Regions from separate parts of the Homo sapiens genome. Here region 1 is linked to region 2. The links are contacts of gene promoters, found by promoter capture Hi-C in blood cells and fetal thymus (Javierre and others, 2016). All regions are on one chromosome and are shown on one strand. Each heading gives the region's core, a stretch centred on a gene start or on the middle of the fragment in contact. The rest is flanking DNA. Distances are from core to core; before and after follow the strand shown.

The links. Contacts are between HindIII fragments. The CHiCAGO score rates a contact against its expected background, and 5 or more counts as called.
Region 1: a fragment that was not itself captured here is called in contact with the fragment with the promoter of IMMT in region 2 in 5 of 17 cell types (fetal thymus, total B cells, total CD8 T cells and 2 more); the score reaches 8.9 in fetal thymus.

The regions. Positions count from the first base shown.
Region 1 is chr2:85,635,695-85,640,348 of GRCh38, forward strand. It overlaps USP39 (ubiquitin specific peptidase 39), which reads left to right. Exons shown (of 13, transcript NM_006590.4): 7 at 359-436; 8 at 1,675-1,742; 9 at 3,509-3,697. Among named protein-coding and RNA genes, the nearest start is that of USP39, 22 kb to the left of the region's middle. The HindIII fragment of the contact is 283 bases long and covers 1,723-2,005 here.
Region 2 is chr2:86,192,442-86,197,665 of GRCh38, forward strand. It overlaps IMMT (inner membrane mitochondrial protein), which reads right to left and starts at 3,021. Exons shown (of 15, transcript NM_006839.3): 1 at 2,897-3,021. The coding sequence starts at 2,941. MIR4779 (microRNA 4779) reads right to left here and starts at 667; the gene lies at 585-667. RefSeq lists enhancers at 2,522-2,571, 2,692-2,871, 2,892-3,011. The HindIII fragment of the contact is 5,542 bases long and covers 2,019-5,224 here.

The DNA of each region.
Region 1 (4,654 bases), core at 614-3,113, 560 kb before region 2:
CCTAAAAGACAGGAATCTTCATGAGCTGCAGAAGGGAAGAAGGAAGTTTGAGCTCACTCTGGAGAAAAGTGGATGTTAAAAGGTCATATTCATTTGTTTTGGTCATCACTGAGTGATGCGATACAGTCCTGGTATGAATCAGAGAGCCTATGGAGAGAGTCAAGATCGGAGGAGTGAGAGCTTGACCTTGAGGAGTGCCAGCATTTAATGATAAGATAGAGGAGGATGCACGGCAGTTGGGATGGGATGGCATGGCCAGAGAGGAAGGGGGAGAACCAGGAATGCCAACCAGTGCATGGTTTAAGTTAACTCTAATGCCACTTAGCTTCAACGTTTTCCACCCTTCCTTTTTTTCCAGGAGATGGCGTTGACTTTCTGTCTTGGTTTCTGAATGCTCTGCACTCAGCTCTGGGGGGCACAAAGAAGAAAAAGAAGAGTAAGTCATTTACTTATAAAAAGGAGTTATTTTGTTCCCTTTTAAAAAACTTTGCGGTCGGTCGCAATGGCTCATGCCTATAATCCCAGCTCTTTGAGAGGCCGAGGTGGGTGGATTACCTGAGGTCAGGAGTTTGAGACCGGCCTGGCCAACATGGCGAAACCCCATCTCTACCAAAAATACAAAAGTTATTCAGGTGTGGTGGGATGTGCCTGTAGTCCCAGCGACTTGGGAGGCTGAGGCAACTTCCCATTCTTTTGTTAACTGTTTATCTGGGGTAGGCTAGTATCTATGTTATAGATAAACTACATGTTCTTTCTGAATAGGCCCCTCTCCATAGTTTTTGCTAGAATATGGTTATAGTCCCAATGATATTTTATTATATATATATTTTGAGACAGAGTCTTGCTCTGTCACCTAGGCTATGCAGTGGCACGGTCTCAGCTCACTGTAGCCTCCATCTCCCAGGTTCAAGCAGTTCTTCTCCCTCAGTCTCCCAAGGGTAGCTGGGATTACAGGCACCCACTACCACGCCCAGCTGATTTTTGTATTTTTAGTAGAGATGGGATTTCTCCATGTTGGCCAGGCTGGTCTCAAACTCCTGACCTCAGGTGATCTGCCCAAAGTGCTAGGATTATAGATGTGATGGTGTCTTGATGTGGGATTGTGGCCTGTTGCTTTTCCCACTGGATGGCCCTGCCCTCTCTACCAGGTGTCTTCAGCCTGTGTTAACCCTCTGAGCTCTCTAACTTGCGTCTTGGCAGGGTTCTAGAACTTGGTTGTGCTTTCTCTCTTGTTGCTTTGATCCTGTTCTGGCCCATCTCTTAGTCTGTCATTGTCCTCTTGTCTTCATTACAGTTTGGACATTGTCTCCCTTTGAAAGTAGCTTATGGTTATGGGAAGTTCCTTGGCTGTACCTTGTTTTGCTTGTGAATTTTTTTGTAATTCATGTATCACCATTCCTTCATTTTGAACACATTTACCTTTTCTTTTATGGACCAGGCCCTGTGATGGAGGATAAAAAGTTGTCTTAAGAGAAATAAAGTAATTATTTACACAAATAATTATAAAGGTACCCTGGTGGTATATAGTACAAAAGGAAACTTCTGTGTTTAGTGAGAGCTCTGTGTCTTTTGCTGGAAGATGCTGGTTTATTTCAGAAATTTAGAAGCTGGAAATATACTTCAGACATGTTTTCCATCCTCACGGAATTTGTCTCTTGCTTCCTGTTTGTGCAGCTATTGTGACTGATGTTTTCCAGGGGTCCATGAGGATCTTCACTAAAAAGCTTCCCCATCCTGATCTGGTGAGTTAATTGAGCCTGGGTCTTGGACTGATTCATATTGCTTGAGGGGACGTAGGGGAGATGAAGAGATGCTCAGAGAACTGACAAGCCTGCTTGCCCTGTGAAGAGGTTCAACAAAGCACCTGCCTAGTGGCAGCTCTGCCTGGTCCCTGTCATACTAGTGCACTTTTTCAGTTTGGGAGTTAGTGGTTGGATGTACTGTGCTGGTTTAAGTGTTCTGGCCACTAGGTGGTGCTGCTGTGTTTTTTCAGAAAGCTCAGCTAAGCTTTCTTTTTGTTTTTCTTAGTCTCCCTCTGTCGCCAAGGCTGGAGTTGCAGTGGCGCCATCTCAGCTCACTGCAACCTCTACCTCCTGGGTTCAAGCGATTCTCCTGCCTTAGCCTCCTGAGTGGCTGTGATTACAGGCGCTTGCCACCACGCCCAGCTAATTTTGTATTTTTAGTTGTGACGGGGCTTCACCATGTTGGTCCAGGCTGGTCTCGAACTCCTGACCTCAGGTGATCTACCTGCCTCGGCCTCCCAAAGTGCTGGGATTACAGGCGTGAGTCACCGTGCCTGGCCCTCAGCTAAGCTTCCTAGATGGTCTTAGAGCTTTTCTTTTTTGAGATGGAGTTTTGCTCTTGTTGACCAGTCTGGAGTGCAATGGCATGATCTCAGCTCACTGCAACCTCCACCTCCCAGGTTCAAACCATTCTCCTGCCTCAGCCTCCGAAGTAGCTGGGATTACAGGCATGCGCCACTATGCCTGGCTAATTTTTCTATTTTTAGTAGAGAAGAGGTTTTACCATGTTGGTCAGGATGGTCTCAAACTCCTGACCTTAGGTGATCCACCTCCCTTGGCCTCCCAAAGTGCTGGGATTACAGACATGAGCCACCGTGCTCGGCCCACTTTCTTTTTTTAATGGATTTTTTTTCCTTTTTGAGACAAGATCTCTGTCACTCAGGCTGAGTGTGGTGGCGTGATTATGGTTCACTGCAACCTCAACCTCCCTTGCTGAAGTGATCCTCCCACCTCAACCTCCCCAGAAACTGGGACCATAGATACACACCACCACACCGGGCTAATTTTTATTTTTATTTTTGTTTAATTTAATTAATTAATTAATTTATTTATTTTATTGAGACGGAGTTTCACTCTTGTTGCCCAGGCTGGAGTGCAATGGCACTATCTCGGCTCACCGCAACCTCCGCCTCCCGAGTTCAGGTGATTCTCCTGCCTCAGCCTCCCGAGTAGCTAGGATTACAGGCGCCACCACCACGCCCGGCTTATTTTGTATTTTTAGTAGAGACGGGGTTTCTCCGTGTTGGTCACGTTGGTCTTGGACTCCTGACCTCAGGTGATCTACCTGCCTCGGCCTCCCAAAGTGCTGGGATTACAGGTGTGAGCCATCATGCCCGGCCAATTTTTTTTTTTTTTTGTAGAGATGGAGTCTCACTGTGTTGCCCAGGCTGGTCTGGAAGTCCTGGACTCAAGCAGTCCTCTCACCTTTGTTCCCAAAGTGTTGAGATTACAGCCGTGAGCCATCACACTTGGCCTCAGGGCTTTTTAGATAGTCTGGTATATAAGCAAAATATCTTTAAAGAAGGAAACCTGTTGGTTCTTAAGTTAATCTAACCAGGTGGTGCATGCCAAACTGCCCAATCTCTCGGGCACTTCTCTTTGTTCTTTCAGATGAAGGAAATGTCGGCGTGGTAAAACATCGGTTCTGTGTTGGTTCCTATACCCGTCACACTCCTTTCCTCTCTTTTCTTCTCATTCATTTCTAGCCAGCAGAAGAAAAAGAGCAGTTGCTCCATAATGACGAGTACCAGGAGACAATGGTGGAGTCCACTTTTATGTACCTGACGCTGGACCTTCCTACTGCCCCCCTCTACAAGGACGAGAAGGAGCAGCTCATCATTCCCCAAGTGCCACTCTTCAACATCCTGGCTAAGTTCAATGGCATCACTGAGAAGGTAGCCCATTAACACACCTGCCCTGCCTATACTTACCCTCGCTCTCTCGACTTTTTCATTTTCTTTTTTTTTTTTTTTTCAAGACAGAGTTTTGCTCTTGTCGCCCAGGCTGGAGTGCAGTGGCGTGATTTCGGCTGACTGCAATCTCTACCTCCCAGTTTCAAGCGATTCTCCTGCCTCAGCCTTCCTAGTAGCTGGGATTACAGACATCCGCCACCATGACTGGCTAATTTTTTATATTTTTAGTAGAGACAGCATGTTGGCCAGGTTGGTCTCGAACTCTTGACCTCAAGTGATCAGCCTGCCTCGCCTCCCAAAGTGCTGGGATTACAGGCGTGGGCCACCACACCTGGCCCATTTTCATTTTATATGTAAGAATCACCACATGTATGTGACGTATTTATTATAAATTATATTGACTTTATTGAGCCTCCCAGACTCGTTGGTATTTCTCACTGGTCACCCCCAACTCTTAACTTATAGTGCCCCTTTTTATTATTTTTTGAGACAGGGTCTAGCTTTATCACCTAGTCTGGGTGATCATGGTGGCGTGATCATGGCTCACTGCAGCCTCAAACTCCTGGGCTCAAGTGATCCTCTCACCTCAGCATCCTAAGTAGCTGGGACTAGACACACTCCACCACATCCAACTAAGTATTTTTGTAGAGAGAGTGCTCACTTTGTTGCCCAGGCCATTCTTTAACTCCTGGCCTCAAGGGATCCTCCCACCTCGACCTCCCAAAGTGTTGGGATTACAGATGTGAACCACTGCCCAACCACAGTGCCCCCTCTTGTACTTCTCATATATCCTGTTTTCAGCTTTCTGCCTGCCTCTGGGGTAGTATAGAGAAAGGAAGGTCATTTAGGAGAGGAGAAACTCCAAAAAGTGGGGAGACATACTTTTTTTTTTTTTTTGAGATGGAGTCTCACTCTGTTGCCTAGGCTGGAGTGCAGTGG
Region 2 (5,224 bases), core at 1,771-4,270:
TAAAAAATCTTTTTAAATTAAAAAAAAATTCATGAACACATTCATTCTTTCATTTATATATGTCATAAACATTCACTGAGCATCTACTTGGAGCCAGGGACTATTGTTAATACTGGAAATACAGCAGTAAATATGGACACAGTTCCATTGTGGAGCTTACTTTTTAAAGGTGGAAACTGTGTAATAAATACACATTATAACATCAGGTAGTGCTAGGAGCTACAAAGTATAACAAAGTAGGATGGGGTAAAGATATAGTGATACAAGGAAGGCAAGAGTAGTCAGAATTCTATTTTGGATCAGGATGCCCTCTCTGAAGGGAAGGTGACATTTGAGAAATTAACTGAAGGGAATAAGTTAAGCAAACCTGTGAGAAGAGTTCAGGGCAAAAGAAACACCTGATGAAAAGGCAGTGAGGCACATGCTGGAGATTACCAGGAGAATCTGAGTGAGGCAGTAGAAAAATGAAATATGAGAAGAGTCAGATCAAGGGCCCATGGTAAGCAGTTTAGATTTTATTTTGAATGTGATGCGATGTCTCCAAAGAGCATGACCTCATGTTTGCCTTTTAAAAAGCCTTTTACTAAATGTCTTACTGCTTTTACTATTCCCTCCTAGAGTAAAGAATGGACTCTAGGAGGGAACAGTAAAAGCAGTAAGACATTTAAGAAGATGGGGTTGGCTGGGCACGGTGGCTCGTGCCTATATTCCCAGCATTTTGGGAGGCAGAAGTGGGAGGATCATTTGAGCCCAGGAGTTCGAGACCAGCCTGGCCAACACAGAGAGACTCCGTCTCTACAAAAATTTTTTAAAAAATTAGCCAGGGATGGTGGCACATGCCTGTGGTCCCAGCTACTCAGGAGGCTGAGGTAAGAGGATTGCTTGCGCTCAGGAGGTCAAGGCTGCAGTGAGCCATGACTGTGCCACTGCACTCCAGCCTGGGTGACAAAGTGAGACTCCGTATCCAAAAAAAAAAAAAGAAAGATGGGGTTTAATAAAGTGGAAAGGATCTTGACAAGTGAGATATTCTGGATACGTTGATACAATCAAATACGACGAGGCTAGAGAGTCACCTGCTTGGGGATTAAAGTTCTGAGAGTTGATGTAATCTCAAATTAGAGAGTCTATAAAGAGACAGGAAGAGATGAGAAGGTGTATATTTCGAGGTACAAAGCAGAAGCAGACTCAGTAAAGGAAAACAAGAGAGATGGGACCCAAAATATTACTTGAGAGAAGCCAAAAGTACAAAGAGCCTCATAAAGCAGCAATGTCAAATGCTACAGAATTAAGGAGATGGTGAGAATAAACCAAAGAATTTTACAAGACAGCAATTTCAAGAAGCTTAGACATCTTGATTCAGAGCTATAAAAGGGTTCATTTTTTATTACCAAGTTTTAATTAGTTTTCTTAATTCCCAAATGGGATCCCAAAAAGTTGACTCTGAATTAACTGAAAAGGAGGTCATCCAGGTGGGCCTGGTCTAATCACATAAGCCTTTTAAATCTGGGTCTAGAGAGGAAAGACCAAAGTAAAAGAAATTTGGAAGTCAGAGAGGCAAGCTCCTGGTAGCCTGCACGAAAGCAAACATCAATGTTATGAATGGCCTCTAGAGGCCTTGAGGCAAGGAACTGTAGGCAGGCTGTAGAAGCTGGGAGCAGTGGCTGGCAAGAGGCAGCAAGAAAAGAAGTACTTCAGTCCTGTAACTGCAAGGGACTGAATTCTGCCAACAAACTGCATGAGCCTGGAAGAGGACCCTGATCTCCAAATGAGAACCACAGCATGGCTAATACTTTGCAGCCTTATGTGACCTGGAGCGGAGAACACAGATCATCCGTGCCCAGACTTCTATCCTACAGAACCCGTAAGGTCATTCATGGGTGTTGTTTTAAGCTGCTAAATTTGTGGTATTTGTTACGCAGCAATAGAAAACTAACACAGGTTCGTTCCACTTTCCTATGGAAGGGGCTGCTTCTGTTACCTAGCAGCAAATAGGAAGAGAAGCGAACTTGAAAAAACAAAGCTTGACTTTTATGATCTCTAACTCACTATTCCTAGGGATTCTGTTCAATTACTGCTTGAGTCACAGTACTTGGTTTGCTATCTACATTTTGCCAAAATATCAACTTCCTGAAAATCATGAGCAGTGGAAACAGGCTTTTTAATTTTCAATTTTAGAAAGTAACTTTGGCAATTACGCAAAACTAGAAGTAACTGGGTATTTAGGCTCCTTGAATGTCAAAGTAGTCCCAGCGCCTGGAGACACAGATCCCTGCCCTAATCTCAGAAATGAGCCACAAGGTCATGACTCCTGTCTTTCCTTGAAGACCAGGAGTTTCAGCTCCACAAATGAAAATCTTTCGCTTTTGTTTGGATTAAGAATAACTCAGAAGTGTTCTCAGCTGCGAAAAGAAAGGCACTCCCTCCCAGATAATTACAACCTTGACCCCTAAAATGTGGACTCTCGCTAGAAGTCCAGGCACCTCCTTATTAAGGATGCAACAAGCCGCCGCTCCGCTCGTCCTGACGGGAACTGTAGTTCTCGCCCGTCGACCTTCAGCACTGAAAACCTATCGCGCGCCCAACCGGCGACCCAGACGCCAGCAGCCAGGATTGGTCCTGGACGGGGGCAGCGCGGCCCTGATTGGACTACATGCCCACGAAGCCGCGCCTCCCGCTACTCTCCACACCCCACCCCGCTGCTGCAATAACCTCAAGTCATCCCAGTCCGGCGAACTCCCTGGTGGCTGCCTAGCTGCCCGCCCGGGCCTCTCCCGACGAGGGTGGCCCTGAGGCTCGCCTTTGTCCTGGAGGCTAGGCAGCGACCAAGGCTCCCCCGTTTTTCGCTGACGGTTCTAGTTCAGCCTCCTCACGCGCCTCCGGGAGCCCCAGTGCTCACCTGGGCGGCGGCGGTCACACCCGATAACTGACAGGCCCGCAGCATCTCGGTCAAGCGGACGGCGCTGCTGGTGGACTCGAGCTGCCGCGGCGGCGCGAGTTAAGTGGAGGCGTGCTTGCGTGTGTGCGTGCCCGCGTCCGCGCCCGGCGCACCGGAAGCACAGCGGACGCCACTGCGCACGCGCGGCCCCTTCTACCGTCCCCGACTCCGCGGCTCTTAGAGGGTGGGCTGTGTCCCGGCTGCGGAAACGCCAACTCCAGGCGATTGGCGCGAAGGAGGCGAAAAGGGCGGATTCCCTTTCCGGGTCGCGCCCGGGCTGCAGGTCCTTATCCGGAAGGGGTTACTAGGTGAACACTGCCGGAGGGAGAGCGCTCTGAAATCCATTCTTCAGCCGCACGTGGAAAATGGACAGCTGTGACTCTTAAAGAGAATTAAAGCAACAAAGCATCTCAGCCTGCTCTATGAGCTGGATATTTCGTAGGAAGGAGCCGATTTGGCGAAAGTTACGTAAACAATGGAATTGTCTCAGTTTGCGCCTTTGTTTCGTTTGACAGCCCTCCAGGGAGTCATAGTGATTGCTGGAGACGGTGAACTAACACTGTGGGGACCCTTGTGCTAAACGTGTCAAGTGGCACAACAAGGATAGGAACACGGGTCCTTTGGACTCCACAGCTTCTGCTCCTTCCAGATTAAGCCACACTGCTTTCTCCAAGTTGTTACTGTAGTAACATCATTTTGGCTGCAGTTTGTGGATGGGTTGGAAGATGGGAAGTCAATGCAGAAGCACCGTTGAAAGTATTCCACTGGGCAGGGCGCGGTGGCTCACGCTTGTAATCCCAGTACTTCGGGAGGCCGAAGCGGGAGGATCGCTTGAGCCCAGAGGTTCGATACCAGGCTGGGCAACACAGTGAGACCTCGTCTCTATATAGAAAAATAAACAAACAAAAAATTTAAAAAGAAAAGTAGGGCCAGGAGCTATGACTCACGCCTGTAATCCCAGCACTTTGGGAGGCCAAGGCGGGTGGATCGCCTGAGGTCAGGAATTCGAGACCAGCCTGGCCAAAATAGTGAAACCCCGTCTTTACTAAAAATACAAAAAATTAGCTGGGCATGGTGGCGGGTGCCTGTAATCCCAGCTACTCGGGAGGCTGAGGCAGGAGAATTGCTTGAGCCCGGGAGGCGGAGGTTGCAGTGAGCCGAGATCACGCCATTGCACTCCAGCCTGGGCAACAAGAGCGAAACTCTGTCTCAAAAAACAAAAGTATTCCATTGATTCTGTAATCAAAATAAAACACGTTAAATATTAAGCATGGTATTAATACTCCATGTATACTCCAGAATTAATATGTTCGTATTAATACTATTAGCATCTTATTGCAATATCGTGGAAACTAACTTTTCTATCTTCTATTGGATTTGCAAAGTATTCCAAGTCTTAACTGGGTAATTTATTACAATATGTATTCTCTCTAGAGGTAGACTGCGCTATGACTTGTAGCATGGAGAGATGGACTTGAAAATTATCTGAAAGCAATAGTTATGTTTGTATATGTTCTATGTTCTATGGTTTTTAGGGGACTACAGTAATTACATATGTTTCATATCTCTTTCACTTAGCTTCCAGAGCAGTCTCCCGTTTTCTTTAGTAATTTTAGCAATTGAATTGCTGCCTCCCTGCCCACTGCTGTCATGCCCAGTGGTGCCGGTGTGATGACTTTTCTAACACCCTTGTCTTTGAACTTCTTAATGCCAGTGAACGCTTTCATCCTGCTTCAGTCATGTGGTGCCCGTGTGATGACTTTTCTAACACCCTTGGCTTTGAATTTGTCAATGCCAGTGAATGTTTTCATCCTGCTTCAGTCATGTACGTCACAGCCACAACTTGCGCCTGAACATCATTAGCAACCTCTCTAGCTTCAAGATCTCAAACCTCAAAATTAGCCTCCCAACCCCTCATAACCTACGTGGAGAGTCCTCACTCTCCACTTGGAAGTTGTCAATATTTTTGCTTTAAAATGTTATCAGGCAGGCCAGGCGCTGTGGCTCACACCTGTAATCCCAGCACTTTGGGAGGCTGACGCGGGCGGATCACCTGAGGTCAGGAATTCGAGACCAGCCTGGCCAACATGGTGAAACCCCGTCTCTACTAAAAATACAAAAATTAGCTAGGCTTGGTGGTGCGCGCCTGTAATCCCAGCTATGTGGGAAGCTGAAGAAGGAGAATCACTTGAACCTGGGAAGCAGAGGTTGCAGTGAGCCAAGATCACACCACTGCACTCCAGCCTGGGGGACAAAGCGAAACTCCGTCTCAAAAAAAAAAAATTTGTT